Regions from separate parts of the Homo sapiens genome. Here all the other regions are linked to region 3. The links are contacts of gene promoters, found by promoter capture Hi-C in blood cells and fetal thymus (Javierre and others, 2016). All regions are on one chromosome and are shown on one strand. The core of a region is centred on a gene start or on the middle of the fragment in contact, and the rest is flanking DNA. Distances in the headings are between cores, read along the strand shown.

Region 1 (4,453 bases), core at 1,579-4,078, 680 kb before region 3:
CTCCCACCTCAGCCTCCCGAGCAGCTGTGACTACAGGCACGTGCCAACACACCTGGCTAATTTTTGTACTTTCAATACAGACAGCGTTTTGCCATGTTAGCCAGGATGGTCTCGATCTCCTGACCTCAAGTAATCTGCCCGCCTCAGCCTCTCAAAGTGCTGGGATTACAGGCGTGAGCCACCGCGCCTGGCCCCTAACTAGTTTAATTTCTCCCTGTTTCTCTCCCTGATAAAGAGTGGGAGGGGAGCAAGGAGATTGAAGGGAGATGTTTTCCAAAGGGCAGGATTTGTGGTTTTTTATTATTTATACCCACAGTATTAGTTAAATGTCTATCTGTGCTTGCCTCAATGTGCCTCCAGTGCTGATAGAGAACAGGTTAAACAGGTCCGGTGTTCACATCTAAAATGACCTGGAGAGGACTGGGCACGGTGGCTCATGCCTGTAATCCCAGCACTTTGGGAGGCCAAGGTGGGAGGATCACCTGAGGTCGGAAGTTCAAGACCAGCCTGACCAACATGGAGAAACTCCATCTCTACTAAAAAATACAAAATTAGCTGGGCATGGTGTTGCATGCCTGTAATCCCAGCTACTCGGGAGGCTGAGGCAGGAGAATCACTTGAACCCAGGAGGCAGAGGTTGCAGTGAGCCGAGGTCGCACCATTGCACTCCAACCTAGGCAACAAGAGCAAAACTCTGTCTCAAAAAAATAAAAATAAATAAATAAAACCACTTGGATGGGAATAGACATAAAACTTTAGGTAGGTGAATGTACAGGAAGTATTGTTATGTAAATTAATAATCAGCATTTTCATATTTCATAGAAATAGCAGGCAAGAGAGTACCTCTGGGTTTAGGTAGTTTCTGGGGAAAAAAAATGAACTGAGGAAAAGTTGCTGTCTCAATGCTAGCTGTCAAGAGATGCTTACTGGGTCCAGGCACCGTGGCTCATGCCTGTAATCCCAGTCCTTTGGCAGGCTGAGGAGGGCGGATTGCTTGGGCCCCCAGGAGTTAAGACCAGCCTAGGCAACAAAGCAAGACCCTGTCTCAGTTTAATTAAAAGAAATTTGATATCTTTATTAATTTTTTTTAAAGAGAAGCTTACTGGAAGAACTTGTGGGGAGTGCTTTTTGTGCCCCTAATCTGAAGTTATTTATCAAAACCAGTCTCTGATTCCAGCCCCCACCACCTACATTTCCCCTCCCAGCTTACAGGAAACCCCTCCCAAGGCCTTTATACTGTGGTTTGGGATTGTGTAAGGTTCAGTAGAGCCCTTTGAGGTGGAAGACTTCCCCTTCCTCACCAGCATTTCACCTTTAGGGGCATGAAACTGACTCTCTGTGCCTCCTCCATTCTTCACCCCAAGTACTATGTGACTTAATCTTTTTATCCTTGGGTGAGGCAGAGAGAAGGTATCCCTAAACATACAAGCACTGTGTATTCTTAGTATGTTGTGTGAAGGGGCAGGGTGTGGGGTAGGGCAGAGGAATTATCTCTGTCATGGCTATGAGGGGGTTACTGATGTGATGCCTATTAGAGTAAGCTAAAGATCATCATATTAATAACCATTAGCGTAGATTTAACATTTCTTTCTCCACCTCTTATCCTTCTTTCTCCTTTGTGCTCTCCCTTTCTCTCTGTCTTTCCTCCCTTCCCTGTCATGATCTGTTTCAGGGAAGCTGACTCCACCCATGTGTTCAATCCCACCAGTCTTCCCTCCCAAGTCTGGAAGCCCCACGACCTCTTGGTCTCATCTGGTCACAGCAAGTTAGAGGTGGAAAGAGCTCAGCACGGGGCCCTTCTGTTTACACATATACTGCCCATAGCCAGGAGTTACTGCACAAACACTAGCCAGCCTTCTACACTACATTCCTTTTCCAAGACTTTTCTGGGTTAGTTTGCTTTCCAGCCCACTGATTTCCTTCTTATTGGACAGGTCACTCTTTTGCATCCCAAGCCTGGCTTAGGCAAGTCCCTGAGGTTAGTAAACACCTTCAGTGCCCCTCAGCCAAGTCCCTTTTGACCATGGAATACCATCAGCCTGAGGATCCAGCCCCTGGTAAGGCCGGGACTGCAGAAGCAGTCATCCCTGAAAACCATGAGGTTCTGGCAGGCCCAGATGAGCACCCTCAGGACACAGATGCAAGAGATGCTGATGGGGAGGCTAGAGAACGGGAGCCAGCAGACCAAGCTTTGCTGCCTAGCCAGTGTGGGGACAACCTTGAGTCCCCTCTGCCTGAAGCTAGCTCAGCTCCACCGGGGCCAACCCTTGGGACACTGCCTGAAGTAGAGACAATAAGGGCATGCTCCATGCCCCAGGAGCTTCCTCAGTCCCCCAGGACCCGACAGCCTGAGCCAGATTTCTACTGTGTCAAGTGGATCCCTTGGAAAGGAGAACAGACACCCATCATCACCCAGAGCACTAACGGCCCTTGCCCTCTCCTTGCCATCATGAACATCCTCTTTCTTCAGTGGAAGGTAAGAGAACATGCAGTTAGGGGTGCAAAAAATATCAGGGAGTACTCTTCCCTGACTTACTTCCTTGATCATCCTGATGTCCTCAAACTAGTCAAAACTTTTCAGATTGTTCTCCCTATTTCTCCAGCTTGAGCAAATGAGATAAGATGTTCCTAAAAACAAAGAAAAAAAAAAAAGAGGAAGATCTGTCCTACCCCTGTATCTCCTACTCCCTAGCAAATGCACATGCCTTGCAAGATTTCACATTCATTCCCTTGTGCCAGTTGCAAGCCTTTTTTCCTACCCCACCCTACTACTGGAGCTCCCCCTTGCCTTTCCATGGGTTCTTCCTTCAGTGCTCTTTGGAGGAAAGCACACACGTGATCACCCCTTCTGCCTCCAGGTGAAGCTCCCCCCGCAGAAGGAAGTGATCACATCGGATGAGCTCATGGCCCATCTTGGTGAGTGACTGGGCGTTGAAGAGGAATTACCCAAGGGGCTCCAGAGCTATCCACTCAGCCAGAAATCCAGACTATTCAGGGATCTCCATTTGGGGGTTCTGATACAGCAGGGAGGGTAAGGGTCTATGGGGCTTCTCTGCAAGGCTGGAGAATGAAAAGCAAAGGCGTCGGGAGTCCTGGGTTGTAACACCAATTCTGCCCTTAGCTTTTGTATCTGACCCTGGGTGGGCCGTTCACCTTTATGAGGCTGTCGCCTCCTCTGAGAAATGAAGAGTCTGGATTAGACTCTAAGTATTTTCCAGCTCTGAAAATCTGTGTTCTGTGACATTACCCGCATTCTCCAGGAGAAGAGGAAACTTAGCTTTTGGGATGATTGGTGGGGTAAGCTGATAAGGGGCCCTGTCTTGTAGGAAACTGCCTCCTGTCCATCAAGCCCCAGGAGAAGTCAGAGGGACTTCAGCTTAATTTTCAGCAGGTGAGGCAAAAGGTCTGCAGGCATAGGGGTTTGCAGGTTTGTAAGGGGACATCTTGTAATACTAAGATAAGCTTTTGTTGCTTCTTCAGAGGTTTCCTTGAACCATGATTTCATTCTGCAGGAGTCAGAGGAGAGTTTATCTTTGTCCTAGAAAATATGTTCATTGGCCGGGTGCTCACACCTGTAATCCCAGCACTTTGAGATGCCAAAGCGGGAGGATCACTTGAGGCCAGGAGTTCGAGGCCAGCCTGGGCAACATAATAATACCCCTGTCTCTAAAAAAAACCATTTTTTTTTTCAAGAATTAGCCAGGTATGGCGGTGCGTGCCTGTAGTCCCAGCTACTCAGGAGGCTGAGGTGGGAGGGTCACTTGAAACCAAGAGTTTGAGGCTGCAGTGAGCTAGGATCACACCACTGCACTCCAGCCTGGATGAAAGAATTAGACTTAGACTCTCAAAGAAAAACAATGTTCATTTATATAAGATAGAGAAGGGTTGAGGCAAGGGAGAAATGGAGTGGCTTGTAAGAGAATCAGGGAAGAAGAGCAGCAAGGTTAATTTTTAATTTCTGCAGGTGGGAGTGGAGTGGTGGGAGAGAAGGCTAGAATCTCCATCATTTTTTTTTCTACCCCCAGAATGTGGATGATGCAATGACAGTGCTGCCTAAACTGGCCACAGGTCTGGATGTCAATGTGCGATTCACAGGCGTCTCTGATTTTGAGTATACACCCGAGTGCAGTGTCTTTGACCTGCTAGGCATACCTCTGTACCATGGCTGGCTTGTTGATCCACAGGTGAGGGTGGGAGGGCCCACTGGGACCTTATCCAGCTCAAGCTGACATGAGAGAGGCAAATTTTTGTCGGGTAGAGGTTAGGGAGTTAGGGGTTAGATTGGCTTGGGAGGGAAATAGTGTTTAGAGACTGGACCCAGTACAGAATTCCTTGAATTTTAATCTATTTTGGGGGTAACATGCAAATACAAGCAAACTACATGCAAATAGGTCAGTTCTTTAGACATCAAAAATTCAGGAAGCAGATGGGTTTGGTGGCACATGCCTGTATT
Region 2 (4,316 bases), core at 575-3,074, 570 kb before region 3:
TCTCCCAAAATGCTGGGATTACAGGCATGAACCACTGTGCCTGGCCACAAAAAGCATTATTAAGGATAGAGAGGATTAATAAATAATGATCAAGGGTTCAATTCAGTAGGAAGATATAACAATTCTAAATTATATGTACCTACATGGGTACACTGAAAGTCCAGACTTTACCACATTGATATATGCATGTGAGAAATCTGCACTTGTACCCGCTAAATAAAATAAATAAATAAATACATTATATGCATCTAATAAAACAGTCTTAAATAAGAAAGCAATAGAACTCTAGAGAGAAATAGATATAAACCACCATTATGGTAGATAGAACACACATTCTTCTCAAGTATTAATAGGTTGACTAGGCAAAAATCAGTGAAGATATAGAATATTTGAATAATACAATTAACAAGCTTGATTTATTGAACATCTATAAAATCTTGTGCCCTATAATTAGCAAATTCATATTTTTCCATTGTAGTCTTTAATCCCATTTGAGTTGGGCTTTTCGGTCATGTGTAACTAAGAATCCTACTTCTGTTTTAAATAACTAGAAAGTTTCTATTCCCTGCAAATAAATCCTGATTGACACAAATACCAAGCTGAGTTTTTCCCAGAAATGCAAGGGTAGTTTACATGAGAAAACCTGTAAGTGACATTTAATATATAGATTAAATGAAAAAATTACCTCAATGATTACAGAAAAAGCATTTGATAAAACTTAATACTAGCCAAGACAGGAGGATTGCCTGAGTCCAGGAGTTCGAGACCAGCCTGAGCAACATAGTGAGACGCCCCCATCTCTGGTTAAAAAAAAAGAAAAAAAAGATACTAATATAAAACACCTATGTTAATATTCTTAGCAAAATAGGGATAGAAAGGAGCTCCTTTAACCCATTTATGCCTGAGGGTGCAATTTTTTGAATTTTTGCAATCAGACCTTGGTGATGACCTTGAGCAGTAGGACATAAATAACCCCCACATGCTTAGGGTTCCAATAATGGAACACTAGGCATAAGTGGGGGTATCCATAAAAAATGTATAGGCTGGGTATGGTGGCTCATACCTGTAATCCCAGCATTTTGGGAGGCTGAGGCAGCAGGATTGCTTGAGGCTAGGAGTTTGAGACCAGCCGGGGCAACATAGTGAGACCCGTCTCTCTAAAAAAATTTAAAAATTAGCCAGGCAAGATGGTGCATGTCTGTACTTCCAGCTACTCAGGAGGCTGAAGTGGGATGATCACTTGAAGCCCGGAGATCAAGGCCATAGTGAACCATGATAGCATCACTGTCTTCCAGCCTGGGTGACAGAGTGACAGCCTGTCCAAACAACAACAAAAAAAACTATAGCAAACCTACTACTTAATGGGCAACAGTTGAAAGATTTTCCTTTTAAAATCAGGAACCAGACAAAAATGTTCACTATATTAACTTTTATGTAACATAATTCTGGAAGTCCTAGCCAGTGCAGTAAGATAAGATGAAAAAAAATGGATTGAAAAAGAAGAAAACAAAAGTTTACTATTCACAGACGTCATTGCCCGCAGATGAGTCTAAAGAAAAATGTGAGATAATTAGAGCTTAGCAAGGTGGCTGGATAAGATACATAAGTCAATTATATTTCTAAATACCAGCAACACACAAGAAAATGTAATTTTTAAAAAAGCATCATTTACAATGGCATTAAAAATACGTAAGATATTTAAAAATAAGTTTAACAAAAGTTGACTAGGACCAGTTTGGAAACAATTACCAAACTTTACTGATAGTCGTTAAAGAACACTTAAGTAAATGAAGGGATATACTATGTTTGTGGATTCAGCATAGTAGTTAGTTCTTCCCAGATTGATCTATGGATACAATGCAACTCCACCAAAATCCCATCAGGATTTTTTGAGAAAACTGACAAATCAATTTTCTTAAACGTATGAAGGAACTCAAAGGCTCAAGGATAGAGAAGATAGAAGCCAGGCATGGTGGCTCATGCCCGTAGTCCTAGCACTTTGGGAGGTTGAGGCTGACAGATCTCCTGAGGTCAGGAGTTCAAGACCAGCCTGAGCAACATGGTAAAACCCCATCTCTACAAAAACTACAAAAATTAGCTGGGCCTGGTGGTGGGCACCTGTAGTCCCAGCTACTTGGGAGGCTGCGGTGGGAGGATCTCTTAAGCCAGGGAGGTTCAGGCTGCAGTGAGCCGAGTTCATTTCATACCACTGCAATCCAGGCTGGATGATAAAGCGAGGCCCTGTCTCAATAAAAAAAAAAAAAAAAAAAAGAAGAAGAAGAATAAGACATTCTGAAGAAAAAGAATAGGGTAGAGAGATTTTCCTTATCAGCAATCAAGGTTTATTATAAAGCTATAGGGTTTATGACAACGGGGTAGGTATGTGGGCATAGATACCCCTAGAGAGCCCAGAGGCAAATCACACATTTACAGAAACTTGAATTATAACACAGTGGGTATTGTTGGTCACAGGAAAAGCATGAACTATTCAATAAGATACTGGAAAATAGGATATTTATTTTAAAAATTGCATTTAGTTATATGTAAAAGGAAAACTTGAAAACCTTTAGAAGAAAATATGACATATCTTTATGACTTCAGGCACATATTTTCTCATTATTCATCATTACATTCCTCAAAAAGGACATCTTGTTTTACCCTGGCACTTGCAGATCTCACTAGACTTATTCAGCCTGAATATTTTATTAATTTTCCACCTTCTCTCAATTAGTGCATTTCAAGAGACTTCCATCTTTCTTTGATTTCCTTTCATTTATTCTCCTTATCACAAATTTCTAGTATAATTTTATACTAAGTAAACTGTCTGAATCTTATAAAGTTAAAGAGAAAAATAAAAAAATCTGTACTTCCTGAAAGCAAATAATTCCAAAGCAATTTGCTGGGTAAAGTGGGAAAGAAGCCCAAAGGGAAGAATCAAGGGAGATTTTACTGAAGAGGCCAACACATGAATTGAATTGAGGGCTAAGAATGAGTTTATCTGGCAGCTAAAAGTGGGAAAGGGGAGAAGGAAAGAAGATATTCCAGGTAAAGATATGAAGGTTTAAGGGAGGACAATATAGTATGTTTGAGAAACAGCAATTGTTCAGTAAGACTTTGAGATATATTTTACTGAATAGATAGGATTGGTAGCAAAGGCAGCTCACAAGGGACCTTGTGTTGCAGATTAAACACTCAGGACTCAGCTTTGTAATCAGTGGGGAGCCATTGGAAAGCTTGTAAACATGAAAATTACATCATTAGATGTTTGTGTTAGAAATATCAGATAAGGCCGGGTGCAGTGGCTCACGCCTGTAATCCCAGCACTTTGGGAGGCCGAGGCAGGCAGATCACGAGGTCAGGAGATGGAGACCATCCTGGCTAACACAGTGAAACCCTGTCTCTACTAAAAATATGAAAAATTAGCCAGGCATGGTGGCGGGTGCCTGTAGTCCTAGCTACTCGGGAGGCTGAGGCAGGAGAATGGTGTGAACCCAAGAGGCGGAGGTTGTAGTGAGCTGAGATCTGCCACTGCACTCCAGCCTGGGCGACAGAGCGAGACTCCGTCTCACAAAAAAAGAAAAAAAAAAAGAAAGAAAAGAAATATCAGATAGGCAGGAATGTGTAGCGTACATGAGGCAAGAATTAACCTGATATTCTTCTATCAATATGAGTTTCTACAGGGCAAACGTCCATTTCCTGTAGGAAATGTTTGTCAATGTGGAAACTCCAATGTCAGAAGGAACATGCTGCTTCTCTTGGGTGTAGGGTATGAACAGTACAACCTTCATCGATTAATAAACTCAGCTGGGAGTGGTATTAGTTATAGAAGTCTTTGTAGAGGTGATGGCTGAGCTCTATTTGGAACAAGAAAAGAGCACTCCAAATAAAGGAATAGTGATGGAGACAGGAAGCATTGAAGCTTTCTGGAAAATGATGCTTAATTTAATATTGCAGAACTCACAATGCATGAAAGTGAAGGGTATAAAATTTCACATTGGGCCAGGCGCGGTGGCTCTCGTCTGTAATCCCAGCACTTTGGGGTGCCGAGGCGGGTGGATCACCTGAGGTTGGGAGTTCAAGACCAGTCTAACCAACATGGAGAAACCCCGTCTCTACTAAAAATACAAAATTAGCCAGGCGTGGTGGCACATGCCTGTAATGTCAGCCACTTGGGAGGCTGAGGCAGGATAATCGCTTGAACCCGGGAGGCAGAGGTTGCAGTGAGACAAGAACGTACCGTTGCACTCCAGCCTGTGCAACAAGAGCAAAATTCCATCTCAATAAATAAATAAATAAATAAATAAAATCTCACATTG
Region 3 (4,668 bases), core at 1,744-4,243:
CATCAGGAATGCATTCCCCAGCCCTATTCTCAATCCCTAGACAAGTTTTTCCAACTCATTTGAAGGCAAATATTTTCCCCAAGAACCATATCTCAAAGCAGAAAGAGATCCCATTTGATTTTTAATTCTAACTCTTAAGTTGATCAATGAAATCTGCGGAATAAACAAACTCTGTGAATAAGCTAAGTCTGAGAAATTAGTTCTAGCTTCTTTCTTGATCCTGTCATATCAACAAGGACTTGCAAACCTAGTAACACTAAAACAGAACTAAAAAAGCCCATCCAGAGGCCAGCTTTTCCATTCTTCCTACTTCCAGGCAGGCATTCCCTAACCCAACCCTGACTTATGTAGGATTCCCTTCTTTTAAGGTATGCAAGTAAAAGAGGGTTTATCCAGGTCAGTCATCTTAGATATTAAATTAAATCTCATGATCTTTAAGAATGTTCTGGCCGGGCGCGGTGGCTCACGCCTGTAATCCCAGCACTTTGGGAGGCTGAGGCAGGTGGATCACGAGGTCAGGAGTTCAAGACCAGCCTGGCCAAGATGGTGAAACCCCATCTCTACTAAAAACTACAAAAAAATTTAGCTGGGCATGGTGGCAGGCGCCTGTAATCCCAGCTACTCGGGAGGCTGAGACAAGAGAATCACTTGAACCCAGGCAGCAGAGGTTGCAGTGAGCCAAGATCGCGCCACTGCACTCCAGCCTGGGCAACAGAGTAAGACTCCGTCTCAAAAAAAAAAAAAAAGAATGTTCTGTCACATTTCTCTGTGGTCATATTCATCCCAGTGGGAATTCTGCATACAGGTAATTATCATGTTCAATCTACAGGGTCTCCATCAGCTGACTTGATGATCCTTCAGCTCAGAAAAGAATACCCTCATTTTTATTTTGAGACAGAGTCTCACTCCGTCGCCCAGGCTGGAGTGCAGTGGCGTAATCTTGGTTCACTGCAACCTCCATCTCCTGGGTTCACTTGATTCTCCTGCCTCAGCCTCCCAAGTAGCTGGGACTACAGGCATGCACCACCACGCCTGGCCAATTTCGTAGTTTTAATAAAGACACGGTTTCACCATATCGGCCAGGTAATGCCTTACCTCAAGTGATCTGCCCACCTTGACCTCCGAAAGTTCTGGGATTACAGGCGTGACCCACTGCACCTGTCTCTACTAAAAATACAAAAATTAGCCAGGTGAGGTGGTGGGCACCTGTAATCCCAGCTACTTATGAGGCAGAGGCAGGAAAATCACTTGAACCCAGGAGGCGGAGGTTGCGGTGAGCCAAAATCATGTGCACTCCAGCCTGAGCGACAGAGTGAAACTGTGTCTCCAAAAAAAAAAAAAAAAAAAAAAAAGCCAGGTGCGGTGGCTCACGCCTGTAATCCCAACACTTTGGGAGGCCAAGGCGGGTGGATTATCTGACGTCAGGAGTTCGAGACCAGCCTGGCCAACATGGTGAAACCGCATCCCTATTAAAAATACAAATATTAGCTGGGCGTGGTGACCTGCACCTGTAATCCCAGCTACTCTGGAGGCTGAGACAGGAGAATCCCTTGAACATGGAAGGCGGAGGTTGCAGTGAGCCGAGATCGCACCACTGCACTCCAGCCTGGGCGACAGAGCAAGACTCCGTCCCGGGGAAAAAAAAAAAAGGTGTCTAAATGGGAGTCAATAAATTGACTGACCTCAATTTCCAAGCTCAGCTATTCCCAGCAGTGCCACTTATCAAAGATCTGGGAATCATCTTTCAAGATGTTTTAAGACATCTTTTCTCCAAAAAATCCAGTCTGATTAACTTCTACATTCTTGGTAAGTTTAGCCTCTATACTAGAGTCTATAAGACTTGATGCCAAATAGACTCACTTTTGGTATATCCAAAGGAAGCTAGTAGATTGAAGTGATGAAACTAAGACTGAAAGATTTTCTGCCTCAGTGACAAGTTACGTGAGTAATTCTATGGTGGTTCTATTACCCCACAATGAGTAGACATACAGCGTACCAATTTCTACATATTACACATGTATTGCACAAAAGCGGCATATCCAGATGCCATAGAAAGTGAAAACAAGAGTTCACACAGAAACAGTTGGGACACTGAGCCCCACCATTTACAAGCCCTTGGGCAAGTTAAGTAATTCTTTGGAGCCACAGTTTACCATCTTACAAAATGAGTACTGCCATATTTACATCCTAATTCATTCAATAAATATTTATTGAGTAACTACTAAGTGTCAAGCAATGTACTAGGTGCGGTGGATACATAAAACAGTGAGCAAAACTAACAAGAGTCCTCACCTTAACGGGTCTTATATTCCACTAGAATTGAATGATAGGCTAGAAAGTATAAGCAATTTGAAAGCCCAAAGCAATAAATGAGGTGCCACTGTTACCTCCATAAGATGACGTGCAAACTAAACAGCCAATGGATAAAAAAGTTTCAAACGGTAATTAGCCTTGTCACTAATCAAATGCTCAACAATAACTGCGAGGTGCGGGGGTAGTGGGGGTGCGGAAGGAAAGCGAGGTACAATGATCTCTCCTCTCAATGAGCAGGCAGCAGAATCCAAATCCAGTCTTCAGAAGGAATTCCTTACTCCGTGCTCTTGTTTGCTACAACCTGAGTTTCCCTCTGCAGCCCCCCACTCCCCCGCTAATCTTCATTTTTACTCTCTCCGTCACTCCAACCAGTCTCTTACTCTACCTTGTTCTACCTAAACTCCTCACCCCAGAGCTGGTCTCCCAACCCGGTCTCCTTCCCGCCCCCGCCCTTTTCCTCTCAACAATCTCATTCCAACCTCTTCTCCCACCAAACCAGGTACTCCTTTCACACTCCTTCCCGCTGAACCCTCCCGCTTCGGTCCTCCCCTTGGACTGAGTCCCCGGCCACAGTGGCGCGGACTGGAATTACCCTCTGTGGGCCCGGGGCCACTACTCACCTCACAAACTTCAGCCCCTGAGACGGAGCCCGAACGTTACACCGGAACCGGAAACCTTCTGACCGCCCTACGGCGTGCCGTCGCTACCGCCACCGCCGCCGCCACGCCGCTGTCTCCCAACACGTGACCAAGGAGGGCCGGGCCGCCAATTCGCGCAGCCGTATTTGCCACTTTCTTGGAGGCTGAACGCATGCGTCGCAGAACCGAAAAGTTTCCCTGAGCAATTTCCTTGCTTTCTATTTCCCAGGCTAAACCTATTAGCTAGATTTCTGCCAAGGTTTTTTTTTTAGCTTTTTTTTTGAGACGGAGTCTCGCTCTGTCGCCCAGGTTGGAGTGCAGTGACGCGATCTCGGCTCACTGCGAGCTCCGCCTCCCGGGTTCACGCCATTCTCCTGCCTCAGCCTCCCGAGTAGCTGGGACTACAGGCGCCCGCCACCACGCCCGGCTGATTTTTTGTATTTTTAGTAGAGCCGGGGTTTCACCGTGTTAGCCAGGATGGTCTCGATCTCCTGGCCTCGTGATCCGCCCGCCTCAGCCTTCCAAAGTGCTGGGATTACAGGCGTGAGCCACCGCGCCCGGCCGATTTCTGCCAAGTTAATGTCTTTAACTTCCTGAAGCGGAAATTGGGCTACTTGCTGTTTTCCTCATATGGAGAATAAGTGCGCAAAAGTAAACTTAGGCTAGAATGAAGAGCGAGGCTTCTGCGTTTGTGTTCAAACACAGCCTTTCTGGTAGAAAGTAAACCCTTTCTCCCTAATTTAACAGTGGTGTCAGGCCGGGCGCCGTGGCTCACGCCTGTAATCCCAGCACTTTGGGCTCAATAAATGACAAGTGAGACCTACCAGTATTGTTTTCTCCATTCTATCAATAGGTCTATATATTAACTTCTCTCCAAAATGAGGCTCTAACCTACTGACCCTTTATTTTTTATTTTTATTTTTTATTTTTTGAGACGGAGTCTCGCTCTGTCGTCAGGCTGGAGTGCATTCGGCTCACTGAAACTTCCGCCTCCCGAGTAGATGGGACTACAGGCGCGCGACCACCACGTCCAGCTAACTTTTGTATTTTTAGTAGAGACGGGGTTTCACCATGTTGGCCAGGATGGTCTCCATCTCTTGACCGCGTGATCCGCCCACCTCGGCCTCCCAAAGTGCTGGGATTACAGGGTTGAACCACCGCGCCCGGCCCCTACTGACTCTTTAAATCGATGATTCATAACAACATGTGTGTGGACAAAGATAGTTTGGAAAAAGATTGTCCAGTATTATGACACAATTTCTTATATGAGAAATGGAAAAAATTCCATTATTTTTATATTATAAACTATCCAAACTAAAGTTCCAAAATGTCTTCTTGGTGGTAGGCTGACTAGAAGATGCAGTTGTTCTTCAGGGAGGTTATTCACATTCCCCAGATAGTAGGAGATTTTTGTATCTAAAGATAACAATGTACATACCAAGCCCCACCTTCCCTGATGGGGCAGCACGACATAACAGGATAAAGCCTGGCTCTGAAGGAACAAGTTGGGGGAGTTTGAACCTACTGCTCAACTTATTCACAAATCAGTTTCCCCACCTACAGCTTCTAACACCAATGTCTCACAAAATATTCACTCAAAAAGTCTGTTGAATGGGTTAATGAGTTTCAACATTGCAGGGTTGTTGTAAATTTATTTTGTTTTGGTGCTTCTAACAGTCTGCGTTCAATTCCCTATGGAGAAATGTGTTTCTAGAAA

What was found. The method cuts DNA at HindIII sites, captures the fragments that hold promoters and counts their contacts. A CHiCAGO score of 5 or more calls a contact.
Region 1: a contact is called between a fragment that was not itself captured here and the fragment with the promoter of PRPF3 in region 3, in 1 of 17 cell types (fetal thymus). The highest score is 5.3, in fetal thymus.
Region 2: a fragment that was not itself captured here is called in contact with the fragment with the promoter of PRPF3 in region 3 in 1 of 17 cell types (neutrophils); the score reaches 6.6 in neutrophils.

What each region holds. Positions count from the first base shown.
Region 1 is chr1:151,000,188-151,004,640 of GRCh38, reverse strand. It overlaps MINDY1 (MINDY lysine 48 deubiquitinase 1), which reads left to right. Exons shown (of 10, transcript NM_001376665.1): 2 at 1,935-2,476; 3 at 2,859-2,916; 4 at 3,327-3,391; 5 at 4,026-4,184. The coding sequence starts at 2,024. Among named protein-coding and RNA genes, the nearest start is that of MINDY1, 4.5 kb to the left of the region's middle. The HindIII fragment of the contact is 1,273 bases long and covers 2,192-3,464 here.
Region 2 is chr1:150,890,484-150,894,799 of GRCh38, reverse strand. All of the region lies in intron 1 of CTXND2 (cortexin domain containing 2), which reads right to left. It also overlaps a transcript of LOC107985204 not described here. Among named protein-coding and RNA genes, the nearest start is that of CTXND2, 5.5 kb to the right of the region's middle. RefSeq lists cis regulatory regions at 2,284, 3,163 and enhancers at 2,212-2,356, 3,091-3,235. The HindIII fragment of the contact is 2,823 bases long and covers 413-3,235 here.
Region 3 is chr1:150,319,858-150,324,525 of GRCh38, reverse strand. It overlaps PRPF3 (pre-mRNA processing factor 3), which reads right to left and starts at 2,993. Exons shown (of 16, transcript NM_004698.4): 1 at 2,934-2,993. RefSeq lists enhancers at 2,895-2,944, 3,135-3,184, 3,314-3,879. The HindIII fragment of the contact is 20,070 bases long and covers 1-4,668 here.